Regions from separate parts of the Homo sapiens genome. Here all the other regions are linked to region 1. The links are contacts of gene promoters, found by promoter capture Hi-C in human tissues and cell types (Jung and others, 2019). All regions are on one chromosome and are shown on one strand. The core of a region is centred on a gene start or on the middle of the fragment in contact, and the rest is flanking DNA. Distances in the headings are between cores, read along the strand shown.

The links. The method cuts DNA at HindIII sites, captures the fragments that hold promoters and counts their contacts. A contact is called where the count stands out against the background at its distance.
Region 2: a contact is called between a fragment that was not itself captured here and the fragment with the promoter of TRMU in region 1, in 3 of the 25 tissues and cell types used here (dorsolateral prefrontal cortex, lymphoblastoid cells and mesendoderm cells).
Region 3: a contact is called between a fragment that was not itself captured here and the fragment with the promoter of TRMU in region 1, in 1 of the 25 tissues and cell types used here (mesendoderm cells).
Region 4: a contact is called between a fragment that was not itself captured here and the fragment with the promoter of TRMU in region 1, in 2 of the 25 tissues and cell types used here (IMR-90 fibroblasts and mesendoderm cells).

Annotation. Positions count from the first base shown.
Region 1 is chr22:46,334,165-46,337,258 of GRCh38, forward strand. It overlaps TRMU (tRNA mitochondrial 2-thiouridylase), which reads left to right and starts at 1,550. Exons shown (of 11, transcript NM_018006.5): 1 at 1,550-1,682. The coding sequence starts at 1,601. RefSeq lists enhancers at 1,588-1,807, 1,640-2,139 and a silencer at 1,948-1,997. The HindIII fragment of the contact is 7,028 bases long and covers 1-3,094 here.
Region 2 is chr22:46,558,374-46,561,467 of GRCh38, forward strand. No RefSeq gene overlaps it. Among named protein-coding and RNA genes, the nearest start is that of LINC02925, 18 kb to the left of the region's middle. The HindIII fragment of the contact is 5,201 bases long and covers 1-3,094 here.
Region 3 is chr22:46,172,481-46,175,574 of GRCh38, forward strand. All of the region lies in intron 2 of PPARA (peroxisome proliferator activated receptor alpha), which reads left to right. Among named protein-coding and RNA genes, the nearest start is that of PPARA, 24 kb to the left of the region's middle. The HindIII fragment of the contact is 6,276 bases long and covers 1-3,094 here.
Region 4 is chr22:46,499,917-46,503,010 of GRCh38, forward strand. The region is part of intron 1 of CELSR1 (cadherin EGF LAG seven-pass G-type receptor 1); the gene reads right to left. Among named protein-coding and RNA genes, the nearest start is that of CELSR1, 36 kb to the right of the region's middle. RefSeq lists an enhancer at 428-1,402. The HindIII fragment of the contact is 7,187 bases long and covers 1-3,094 here.

The sequences.
Region 1 (3,094 bases), core at 300-2,799:
TCCGGAGGCTGAGGCAGGAGAATCGCTTAAACCCGGGAGGCGGAGGTTGCAGTGAGCTAAGATCACGCCACTGCACTCCAGCCTAGTGACCAAGTGAGACTGTCTCAAAAAAATAAATAAATAAAATAAAAACCTTTGTCTTCCTTTACTTCCCTGAATACCCACATAGCTTATTGTGGCATGCATATTCCCATTGCAATGCCCTATTCACAAATGAACATCTTTTTCGTTCAGAGTCTCCCTGTGCTTTAGGTAGACCTTGTCTAGATGCTAACTCGTAGAGAAGAACTCAGCTTGAATATCACCCCTGGGGGATGACCTCCATTCTCTCCTCCTTCCTTTATTCAGCGAGGTTATGAAGCACCTGCCCTGGGCCAGGGGCTTTTCTGGGCATGGAGTAGGAGTGGACAGAACACAAAACCCCTGTCCAACACACCTCACAGACATTAAGGATTGAGTGCTGAGTATGCTTGGAGTCAAACTGTAAAAGATTTGAAGATATTTATTCATGTCATAGTCCCAGGAGATCCTGAGAACACGTGCTCAAACTGGTGGTGCTACAGCTTTTGGTTTCGTACGTTTTAGGGAGACATAAGCCATAAATCAATACATGTAAGATGTAACATTGGTTCCGGAAAGGTGGGACAACTCGAAGGTGGGGTGGGGCTTCCAGGTCATAGGTGGATTCAAAGATTTTCTGGGCCGGGGGCAGTGACTCACACCTGTAATCCCGCCACTTTGGGAGGCTGAGGTGGGCGGATCCCTTGAGGTCAGGAGTGAGAGACCAGCCTGGCAAATACGGTGAAACCCCGTCTCTACTAAAAATACAAAAATTAGCTGGGCTTGGTGGCGGGCGCCTGTAATCGCAGCTACTAGGGAGGCTGAGGCAGGAGAATCGCTTGAATCTTGGAGGTGAAGGTTGCAGTGAGCCGAGGTCGCGCCCACTACACTCCAGCCTGCGACAGAGCAAAACTCCATCTCAAAAAAATTTAATTAATTAAAAATTAAATTAAATTAAAATACTGTAAAATACTTCGATATCTTTCAGGGCCTGCCATCTGTCATGTCGGTATCCTATTGCTACGGAGAGTCCGCCTAGACAGTCTTAAGTCTGTTTTGACGTTAATGCTGGTCCGAATTCCAAAGGGAGGAGGAGGGTCTAGTGAGGCGGGTCCCACCCGGCCTTTCCCATCAGAGCCCGAACTCGCGGTTCAGGTTCCCTCTAGGACGCCCTTGGCCGAGAGGAGGCCTCCAATGGCTGGCTGGGGGGCTTAGAATTTTATTTTTGGTTTACAGCGCAGAAGAAGAGCAGTGAGGCCGGGGCGCGGGTGGGGAGGGCAAGGCGGCGGCTCAAAAAAAAAGCCAGCCCCTCGCGGCCCGACAGAGTCTCGGCGCCCCGCGGGTCGGTGGAGCCTCAGGGGTGAGCGCAGGCCGGAGACAGGGGAACCCGCCGCGGGACAGGGGAAGGCCGGACGGAACGCGGGTAAGCTGCCGCAGCTTCCGGCCGGGCCACTAGCGCGGACCCTACGGCCGGGGCGGGACTTCCGGCAAGGCGCGGAAGCGGCGGTAGCTGCAGCTGGCGAAGTTGGGCGACTGGCGGATGCAGGCCTTGCGGCACGTCGTGTGCGCCCTGTCCGGCGGCGTGGACAGCGCCGTGGCCGCGCTGCTGCTGAGGCGGAGAGGTGAGGCGTCCGAGGCTCCCGCCCCCCGCCGAGCGAATGTGTCCCCGGAAACCTGTCCCCGTCCGTCGTGGCGTTGTGCACGTCTCCTCCCTCCCTGGGCCGCTGGTTGCGCGCGGGTCGGCAGGAGGATACCCCGTCCTCTGACTTTGGTTCGGAGGCTCCTCGCCCTCCACCTGTGTAGTCGGAGGTGTGCGCGACTGCAGCTCCGACTACCTGGGAGCAGTTCCGCGCCCCTCTCCACCCACGCGCGCCCACCCACAGTGAGAAGCCGGCGGGCCGGGGTGGGGTGGGGAGGGAAGGGTTTCTCACGGATCTGCGGCGTCCACATTCACCTGTGAGACCGTGGACACTGGTGAGGGGAGCTGGGATCGCCGGGCCGGGGGCCTGACCTCTGCACACGCTGTGGCCGCCCGGTGGGAGGTCCTTGTCCTCCCCACTCAGCAGACTGGACAACTGCCGCGCGGCGGGTCTGCTTGTTCAGCGTCTCCTGTGTTCTCCGCTCGCTGGAGGACAAAGTTTTCTCCAGGAGCATTTGCATTTCTTCCGGCATCTAAACGGAGCCCCACGGGTGCTTAGCATTCCTCGGGCCCGGCGCTGAAATGAGCACTTGTTTAACTTCACCTGTGTGGCTCCCCGCGGGAGGCCTCATTCACAGAGTCACGTTTGTGGAGCTCTGCTTTGCGCCATCTTTGGCTCCTGACCTTGGGCAAGTGAATTAAGCCGTCCCCTGTAAAATTCGGCTAACACCTGCCTCACGGGGTGACTGGAGGGATTAGATGACATAGTACATACTGATGAGTACGTGCTCAGCACATACGAGGTACGCAGAAAACAGTAGTGGCTATTAGTTTATATTGTTAATAACCATAGCTATTATGGTAGGTACAGTAAGTGCCAAAGAGAAGGGTAGGCGGACCATAAGCAGAAATAGTTGTGAGGAAGGGAGAGTGGAGGAAAGCATCCTAGAGATGGAGGTGCTCAGCTGAGTCGAAAGAAGAGTAGGATGTCACTAAGCAGAGACTTGGAGGTGGAGGCGGCCCTCCCGGCACAGTCAGCAGTGCAAGCAGAATCACAGAGGCCTGCAAGTGTGGGCTGGTTCTGGCCAGATGGAGATGGAAGGAGAGGAGCCTGGAGCACGTTTAGCCCTGATTATGGAAGATGCTATACCAGGGGCTTTAGACTGTTAGGTAGACATTAGTCTGGTTGATCTGGGATAGGGGTGGTCTTTCGCGTGTGGTGGTGTAGTTTTGACAAAGCTTTGTCATCAAATTTCTGTTGTTTTGGGTACTATATGAAGCCTTCTTCAGCAGTCATTTGCCCTGTCTTTCATTACATTCAGCCTACCTAAACGAACCAGCTTTCTCATACAGGGTCTGCACCTGTGTAGTTTGCTAAGGTGGTGTAGGGCTAAA
Region 2 (3,094 bases), core at 404-2,903, 220 kb after region 1:
GGCACCCACCCATGTTCAGTCTCGTGCAGATCAATCAGCTGATCAGTGGGCTGCACGGGTCTCTGTGCCCTGTGCCTGTGTCACTACCAGCCCAGGCTCCCATGCCCAGCTTAAATGCCCTCTCCTCCAAGAACCCTTCCCTGATCACCCAAGGCATAAATGTTCCATCCTGCCTCTAACAACCCTTTGAACCAGGACCCCAAGCTGCCGTGGGAGGTGGTTACTTGTAGGTATGTTGTATTTTCCTTTGGTTCATCTCTGTCTACTCAGGGCCTAGTGAGGACCTGGCAAGAACACCTGATAGGGTAAGTCCTAGCCAGAGAAATCAGGCCAGAGAAAGAAAGAAAGGGCATCCAAATTGGAAAAGAGGAAGTCAAACTATATCTGTTTGCCAACGATACGATCTTATACCTAGAAAACGCCAAAGATTACTCCAAAAGACTCCTAGATTTGATAAATAAATTAAGTAAAGTCTCAAGTTACAAAATCAATGTACACAAATCAGTAGCATTGCCATACTCCAGCAATGATCAAGCTGACAATCACAAGAACTCAATCCCTTTTTTTTTTTTTTTACCTTTGAGATGGAGTCTCGCTCTTGTTGCCCAGGCTGGAGTGCAATGGCGCGATCTCGGCTCACTGCAACCTCTGCCTCCCAGGTTCAGCAGTTCTCCTGCCTCTGCCTCCTGAGTAGCTCGGATTACAGGCACCCGCCACCATGCCTGGCTAATTTTTGTATTTTTAGTAGAGATGGAGTTTCACCAGGTTGGTCCACGCCTGTAATCCCAGCACTTTGGGAGGCTGGGGCGGATGGATCACCTGAGGTCAGGAGTTTGAACTCAATCCCTTTTACAGTACCTAGACACAAAAAATAAAATGCTTAGGAATATACTTAACCAAGGAGGTGAGCGATCTCTACAAAGAGAACTATAAAACACTGCTGAAAGAAATCATAGATGACAAAAACACATGGCAATACATCCCATGTTCGTGGACTAGAACAATCAATATTGTGAAAGTAACCATACTGCCCAAAGCAATCTACAGAGTCACTGCAATTCCAACCAAAATACCAACATCATTCTTCACAGAATTAGAAAAAACAACCTTAAAATTCATATGGCATCAAAAAAGAACCTGAATAGCCAAAGCAATCCCAAGCAAAAAACAAATCTGGAGGCATCACCTTACCCAACTTCAAATTATACTATAAGGATGTAGTAATCAAGACAGTATCAAGGAAGTGTCTACTGGTACCAAGCACTGTATCAAGGTAGATATATAGACCAATAGAACAGAATAGAGAATCCAGAAATAAAGCCACTTACAGCCAACTGATCTTCCACAAAGTATGCAAAAACATAAACTGGGGAAATGACATTCTATTCAATAAATGGTGCTGGGAAAATTGGATAGCCACATGTGGAAGAATGGAGCTGGATCCCTCTTTCTCACCATATACAAAAATTAACTCACAATGGGTTAAATACTTAAACCTAAGTCCTGAAATCATAAAAATTCTAGAAGGAACCCTAGGAAAAACTCTTATGGACATTGGCCTAGGCTAAATATTTATAACGAAGGCTCCAAAGGCAAATGCAACAAAAACAAAAATAAACAGGACCTACTTAAACTAGAAAGCTTCTACACAGCAGAAGAAATAATCATGAAAGTAAACAGACAACTTAGAGAATGGGAGAAAATGTTTGCAAACTATGCATCTGACAAAGGACTAATACGCAGAATCTACAAGGGACTCAAATCAGCAAGAAAAAAAAATAATAATTCTGGCTGGGCGCAGTGGCTCATACCTGTAACCCCAGCACTTTGGGAGGGCAAGGCGTGCGGATGACTTGAGGTCAGGAGTTCGAGATCAGCCTGGCCAACATGGTGAAACCCTATCTCTACCAAAAATATAAAAAATTAGCTGGGTGTGGTGGCAGGGCCTGTAATCCCAGCTACTCAGTAGGCTGAGGCATGACACTCAACTTGAATCCAGGAGGCAGAGATTGCAGTGAGCCGAGATTGTACCACTGCACTCCAGCCTGGGTGACAGAGTGAGACTCTATCTAAAAAAATTAATAAAATAAAATAAAAATAATAAATACTTTATAAACATTAATTTACTGACTCTTCTTAATGACCTTGATGTTATATTCTGTTTGATCCCTATTAACAGACAAGGAAACTCGGGCACAGAGAGGCTAGGTTACTCATTCAGAGTCACACAGCCAGTGTGCAGCAGAGCCAGAAGTAAAGCCCAGGGAGTCCCACTCCAGTCTGTGCTCTTAACCCTGGGCCATGACATGTCATCACCCTAGGTGTGCAGTGAGGGGACTGGGGCCTAGGAAGGGGAAGGGACTCATACCTGAAGCCACACAACCAGGGTCCAGCCCTAGGCAGGCTCTTTCTCCACAGAGACAGAGCCGGTTTGGGCCCCTCCTCTCTTCTCTTGGTGACAGTTTTGCCCATGGGCATCCTGCGGGCAAAGGGGAGGCTGAGTTTCTGGTTTGTGGGTGTGTTTCAGGAAGTGCAGCTTGATGGGGTCAGTCTTTGTGTGCAGGGAGAGGAGCTGGGTGGAGGCTGGCTGGATGACTGGGCCTAGGCCTCCGGACAACGGAAAGGAGCAGAGAAGACGAGGGATGCGTCCCGGCACTGGTATTGTGGAGAGAGACCCCAACCCCCAGGAGGGTGAGGAAGGGGCTGTTGGTTCCCCCGCTGGTGAGCAAGGGCTGGCTGTGGGAGGGGCTCCAGGAGCGGAGGGGAACTGTTAAAGATTCAGACCCAGCTGGGCGCGGTGGCTCACGCTTGTAATCCCAGCATTTTGAGAGGCTGAGGTGGGCGAATCACCTGAGGTCAGGAGTTCAGACCAGCCTGCCCAATATGGAGAAACCCCGTCTCTGCTAAAAAATACAAAAATTAGCCAGGCGTGATGGTGCACACCTGCAATCCCAGCTACTAGAGAGGCTAAGGCAGGAGAATCGCTTGAACTCGGGAGGCGGAGGTTGCAGTGAGGTGAGATTGCACCACTGCACTCCAGCCTGGGCGACACAGCGAACTCTGTTTCAAAAAAAAAAAAAAAAAGATTCAGACC
Region 3 (3,094 bases), core at 174-2,673, 160 kb before region 1:
GGTGGCGTGTGACTATAGTTCCAGCTACTCAGGAGGCTGAGACAGGAGAATCACTTGAACCTGGGAGGTGGATGTTGCTGTGAGCTGAGATCGTGCCACTGCATTGCAGCCTCGGTGAGAGAGCAAGGCCCCATCTCAAAAAAGAAAAAAACAGACTTTCCGACCAAACGATCGACAAACCAGACTGTCCAAACAGCCATAAGCCGTAACTTTGTGCGGAGGTAAAAGACCGAGGTCACATCGGGACCTGTTGGATTCAAGGCATGTTGACAGCTGTTTCCAGGCTTCAGATAGAGCCTCCAGCTGGCAGGGTGGCCACAGGGCTTGTTGAGTAGGAAGCCTCGTTGCTTTGACAGGTTACTTGGCCCCATGAGGGACAATCCCATAGTCAGTTACCCAGAAACGTGACTGTCTCCTTGAAATCCTCAGCATGGGGTCTTATGAATAAACCCTTACTAGATTTCCTGTTCTGTCTTATTTTTATGCAGAGCTTTACTTTATAGCAGAAAATTCCATTTTTACCCTTAAATGGCTTGCTTCTGCTCCCTTAGTGTTCTTGTCACTTTAAGTTGCATTCATCTTTGTCCCTTTAGAAAAGGATTTGTCCTGCAACCAGCTCTTGCAGAAGGTACTTGGTTTATTGTTAACCGATGTTTGCTAAATGTTTGAATTATGTTGAGTTGCTTAAAGTCATGCTATCGGGTAGATGTTGTGGCTGTTCTTTTCACTCTCTTATTTGGGGATTTACAAAACAGTTATGTTTTTAGTTTTCTTTTATTTGTTGTGTTGAATAGGAATGTAGCTCTGGGAACCTCTAGTTCCAAATAAGAAAGCCTTGGACACATTTCCAGTTGGCAAGCTGGCAAAATGAAGGGCGTACAAGTTGTTAGAGAGGCTGGGAGCCTATTTAAGCACCCAGCTTCAGGATGGGACATGGGATATACCTCGAGTTAGAGGTTCTTATTAACTGTGGATTCTTCTATGCAGATATCTGTCACAATATAAGTTACTATAAGTCAGTACTAAGGCAGCTGCTACATTCTGTTTGCCAAGGGGAAGAAGAAAGCTTGGAAATGGTATTCCTTAAAAATGTCAGTATCATAAAAGACAAAGAAAAGCTGCGGAAATGTTTCAGATTAAAAGAGAGAAGACAATAAAATGTAATACCTGACTCTGAACAGCATCCAGTACTGAAGGAGGAAAAATGCTATCAAGGACATTATTGGGTCAATTAACAAAATTTGAATACGAATCATAGATTGAACTGTATCTGTTAAATTAACAGAAGCGAAGTGTTCTGTGGTGTGTAGGAGCACACTGCCATTCTTAGCAAACGTGTAGTTTAGTATTTAGGAGAAAGGGCCATGAGGCATGCAACTCACCCTCAAATACACACACACATACACATATATACATACATACCTATAAAGAAAGAAATTATGGGCTAGGTGCAGTGGCTCATGCCTGTAATCCCAGCACTTTGGGAGGCCGAGGTGGGTGGATTGTGAGGTCAGGAGATCGAGACCCTCTCTACTAAAATACAAAGAATTAGCTGGGCGTGGTGGTGCACGTCTGTAGTCCCAGCTACTCGGGAGGCTGAGGCAGGAGAATTGCTTGAACCCAGGAGGCAGAGGTTACAGTGAGCCGAGATTGCACCACTGCACTGCAGCCTGGCAACAGAGCAAGACTCTGTCTTGAAAGAAGGAAGAAAGAGAGAGAGAGAGAGAGAGAGAGAGAGGGAGAAAGAAAGAGAGAGAGAAAGAAAGAAAGAAGGAAGGAAGGAAGGAAGGAAGGAAATTATGATAAAGCAGATGGTTAAGTTGGTAACTACCAGTGAATATGGGTAAAGTTAGGATGTTCTTTACTCTGTTTTGGGGGTGCAACTTTTCTATAAGTGAAAGTACTTCCAAATAAAAAGTTAAAAGGCAAGCAAATAAATAAAAGAGACAGTTTCTATGTTATATATCCTAGCTATGTTTACCATGTCTGGATTCTGAAAGCTGCAGAGCAGAAAACCTGAAGAACAGATCACCTGTTCTTAAAATACCACTGTTGGCCAGACATAGTAACTCACTCCTGTAATCCCAGCACTTTGGGAAGCCGAGGTGGGAGGATCACCTGAGCTCAGGAGTTTGAGAACAGCCTGGGAAACATAGTGAGACCCTGTCTCTACAAAAATTTAAAAAATTATCCAGGCATCATGGTTCGTGCCTGTAGTCCTAGCTACTCAGGAGGCTGAGGTAGGAGGATTGCTTGAGCCTGGGAGTTCGAGGCTGCAGTGAACCATGATCACACTAAAGCACTCTAGCCTGGGCAACAGAGCAAGACCCTGTATCAAAAAAACAATCAAACAAAAAATCACTCCTAATTTTCCTCCCTTTTAGTACTTTTAAAAATTAACTTAAAACATTTTTTGGATAATTGTAGTTTTTTTTACTTTTTTTTTTTTGAGACAGAGTCTCATTCTGTCACCCAGGCTGGAGTGTACTGGTGCAATCTCAGGTGACTGCAACCTCTGTCTCCTGGATTCAAGTGATTCTCCTGCCTCAGCCTCCTGAGTAGCTGGGTTCATAGGCGTGCACCACACCTGGCTCGTTTTTATATTTTTAGTAGAGATGGGGTTTCACCTTGTTGGCCAGGCTGGTCTCAGATTCCTGACTTCAAGTGATCTGCCCGCCTTGGCCTCACGTGCAGTTTTAGGAAATAATACAGAGATCCCCAGCACTCTTTCCAGTTTTCCCCAAGGGTAACATCTTGCAAAGTGAGAGGACGATATCACAGTCAGGATACTGACATTGATACCATCAAGATACATAATGTTTCCATCACCAATCAGTGGTCATGGTGCCTTTTATAGCCAAACCCACTTCTCTCCTACCTTCCCATCCCTTTTTTAATTTTGCCAGTCATTAATCTGTTGCCCATTTCTGTCATTTTATGAATGTCACATAGGCCGGGCGCGGTGGCTCACGCCTGTAATCCCAGCACTTTGGGAGGCCGAGGCAGGCGGATCACGAGGTCAGGAGATCGAGACCATCCTGGCTAACATGGTGAAACCCCATCTCTACTAAAAAATACAAAAAATTAGCCAAGC
Region 4 (3,094 bases), core at 406-2,905, 170 kb after region 1:
CTCCAGAACACGCCAGGCTCCAGGAGTGACCATCACCACCCAGCGGCCGCCCCCACCACCCTGAATGTCCATTTCCACCCCATGCCTGGCTCAAGGCTCAGCGGCGACCTCTCCCGCTTATCTTCCCAAACGGGTTGTTTTCTGTGAGTCCGGACTCTCTGCTCTGATCCCACCCCAGCCCCTGATCCTCCCAGCATGATCCCACCCCAGCCCCTGGTCCTCCCAGCATGATCCCACCCCAGCCCCTGGTCCTCCCAGCATGATCCCACCCCAGCCCCTGGTCCTCCCAGCATTGCTCAGCAGGAAAGCTGGGCTCACGGTGTCTGCAGGACTCAAGGAAGGGACATAACTGCGACAAAACCCTGGCGCCCGGTTTTCAGCACCGCGCTAGGTTTTAACTGCCTGCTGGAGATGACCTTTTATATGGAGCCGCTGACAGCCCCCTCCCCCATGGCGCAGAGATCACATTTACAGCGGTGGCGGTAACCATGGAAACTGGCAGTCGGTGCAGGAGGGCGAACGGTTGATGGGCAACCATGGGGACAATGGCAAGGCTCTGGGCTTATTCAGATGACTGGGGTGTGCTGAATGGGCTCTGAGCACAAAGGCCACTGGGAGCTCTGGGAGCTTCCAAAGGGGGCGTCAATGACACCCATAACTTGTCACAGAAGAACAGAGGCCCGAGCTAGCCCACACCTGTGTTTTTTGATCTCTGGGGGAGTTTACAACAATGACTCTGCAGGCCTTTTGTCAGATGCCATTTTTCTTACTTTATTATAATTATCTGGTCTGTTTTCTGGGTGACCTGGGAGCCTTTGACTGCAGTTTCAGAATGAAGCTCACCACCGTGTCCCCACAACTGGAGCTGCCCGGGAGGCCAGCAGCAGGTCAGGCCACTACATTGCGTCTCTCAGGCTCAGAACATCCCCCATCTGCGGGCAGAGCTGTCCTTGTAAGCACGCCCATGATGGGACCCGAAAATCAGCCCATTTACATGCCAAGTGCTGAGAACCCTGTTTCTAACACCCCTCCAGAGACCCAAAGATCTGAAATGTTAAGATGTTTCCACTAAGAAAAGTTTATTTATTTATTTATTTTATTTTATTTTTTATTTTATTTTATTTCATTTTTTATTGAGACAGAGTCTTGCTCTGTCACCCAGGCTAGAGTGCAATGGCATGATCTCAGCTCACCGCAACCTTCGCCTCCCGGGTTCAAGCAATTCTCCTGCCTCAGCCTCCCAGTAACTGGGCTTACAGGCACCCGCCATCATGCCCGGCTAATTTTTTTTTTTTTTTTTTTTTTTTTGAGACAGAGTCTCGCTCTGTTGCCCTGGCTGGAGTGCAGTGGTGTGATCTCGGCTCACTGTAACTTCCACCTCCCGATTCAAGCCATTCTCCTGCCTCAACCTCCAGAGTAGCTGGGATTACAGGCATGCACCACCACGCCGGGCTAATTTTTGTATTTTTAGTAGAGACGAGGTTTCACCATGTTGGCCAGGCTGGTCTCAAATTCCTGACCTCAGGTGATCCACCCGCCTCGACCTCCCAGAGTGCTGGTATTACAGGTGTGAGCCACCGCGCCCTGCCCCACTAAGAAAAGTTTTAAACAGACATTTAAATAAGCTAATAGGAGACCTTTTCGTGAAGTGGCATCTCATAGGAACCTACGGAAACACGCAAATATCCAGCCCTGAAAGCTGAAAACAAGCTGTGAGCCAAAACACTGTATGATGTGCTTTTTTTCCTTCAGTCAATGCAACAAAGATCTGAAATGTTATTTGTTTTTAAATGCCAAACATCACTCCCTTCAACACTGACATCTCAGATGAGCAATAGCAGAATGGATCTTTCCATGAACTCCAAGAGTAATTCCCCAAAAAGAATTCCCGAAGAGTTCCCCCGCTGGCACAGTCATGGGCTTCCTTGTCTTGAAGAGAAAACAAAGAAAAATCATCTGATCTGCACCCTCCAGGGAGTAATATGTGACTCACTTCATTCTGAAGGAGCAGAGGAAGCTCATTACATTTTTATAAACTACTCAGAAAACTGCCCTGTAGAAAACAGGGCTGGGCGTGGTGGTTCAGGCCTGTAACCCCAGCACCTTGGGAGGCCAAAGTAGGAGTATCCCTTGAGCCCAGGATTTTGAGACCAGTCCAGGCAATGTAGCAAGGCTCCATCTCCAGAAAAAATAAAGTAGCTGGGCACAGTGGCGCACAAGCCTGCAGTCCCAGCTACTCAGGAGGCTGAGGTGGGAGGATCACTTGAGCCCAGGAGGTCGGGGCTGCAGTGAGCTATGATTGTGCCACTGCACTCCAGCCTGGGTGACAGAGTGAGACCTCATCTCAAGAAAAGAAAGGGAAGGGAAGGGGAAGGGAGGGTGGGGAGGGGAGGAAGAGGGGAGGAAGAGGGGAGGGTAGGGAGGGGGAGAGGAGGTGGGGAAAGTTGGAGGAAAGGGGAAAGGGGAGGGAAGGGTAAAGTGGAAAGAAGAGGGAAGGGGAAAGGGGAGGGAAGGGGAGGGAAGGGTAAAGTGGAAAGAAGAGGGAAGGGGAAAGGGGAGGGAAGGGGAAGGAAAGGAGAAAGAGGAGGGAAGAGAGGGAGGGAAAGACGCAGAAAAGGAGGGAGGGAGAGAGGGACGTTATTGAGAAACTGGTGATCAAAGTCACTAGTGACAAAGCTGACTCTTCCGAAGCCCCAGTGGCATGGCCAATACTTTGCTTTGTGCTTTACAAATCCCTGTGAAATTGGTCTCACCACCCCACTGTCACATGGGGAAATCGAGATTCTCAGAAGCTGAGTGACAAACCTGAGGTCACCAGGCAAGTGACAGATGAACCCCATGATCATAGCCCCACACTCTCCTGACTCTCTCTAACTGTTCCCCCTTAACATTAACTATTAAACCACCGTGGCCAAAATCGGCAGCAAGGCGTTTTTAAAGAAGCATGCTCCGTAAGAGGTGGTACAGCCACTGCTGACCTTAACATAATTCCCGGGAGACAGCAAGCTGCACAAGAGTGTGCACCCCGGGAGCAGGTCCCCGCAGGCCACGGCACTCGGAGAGAAGATCAAAGGCTCGAGTTGGAAGTGCCCAC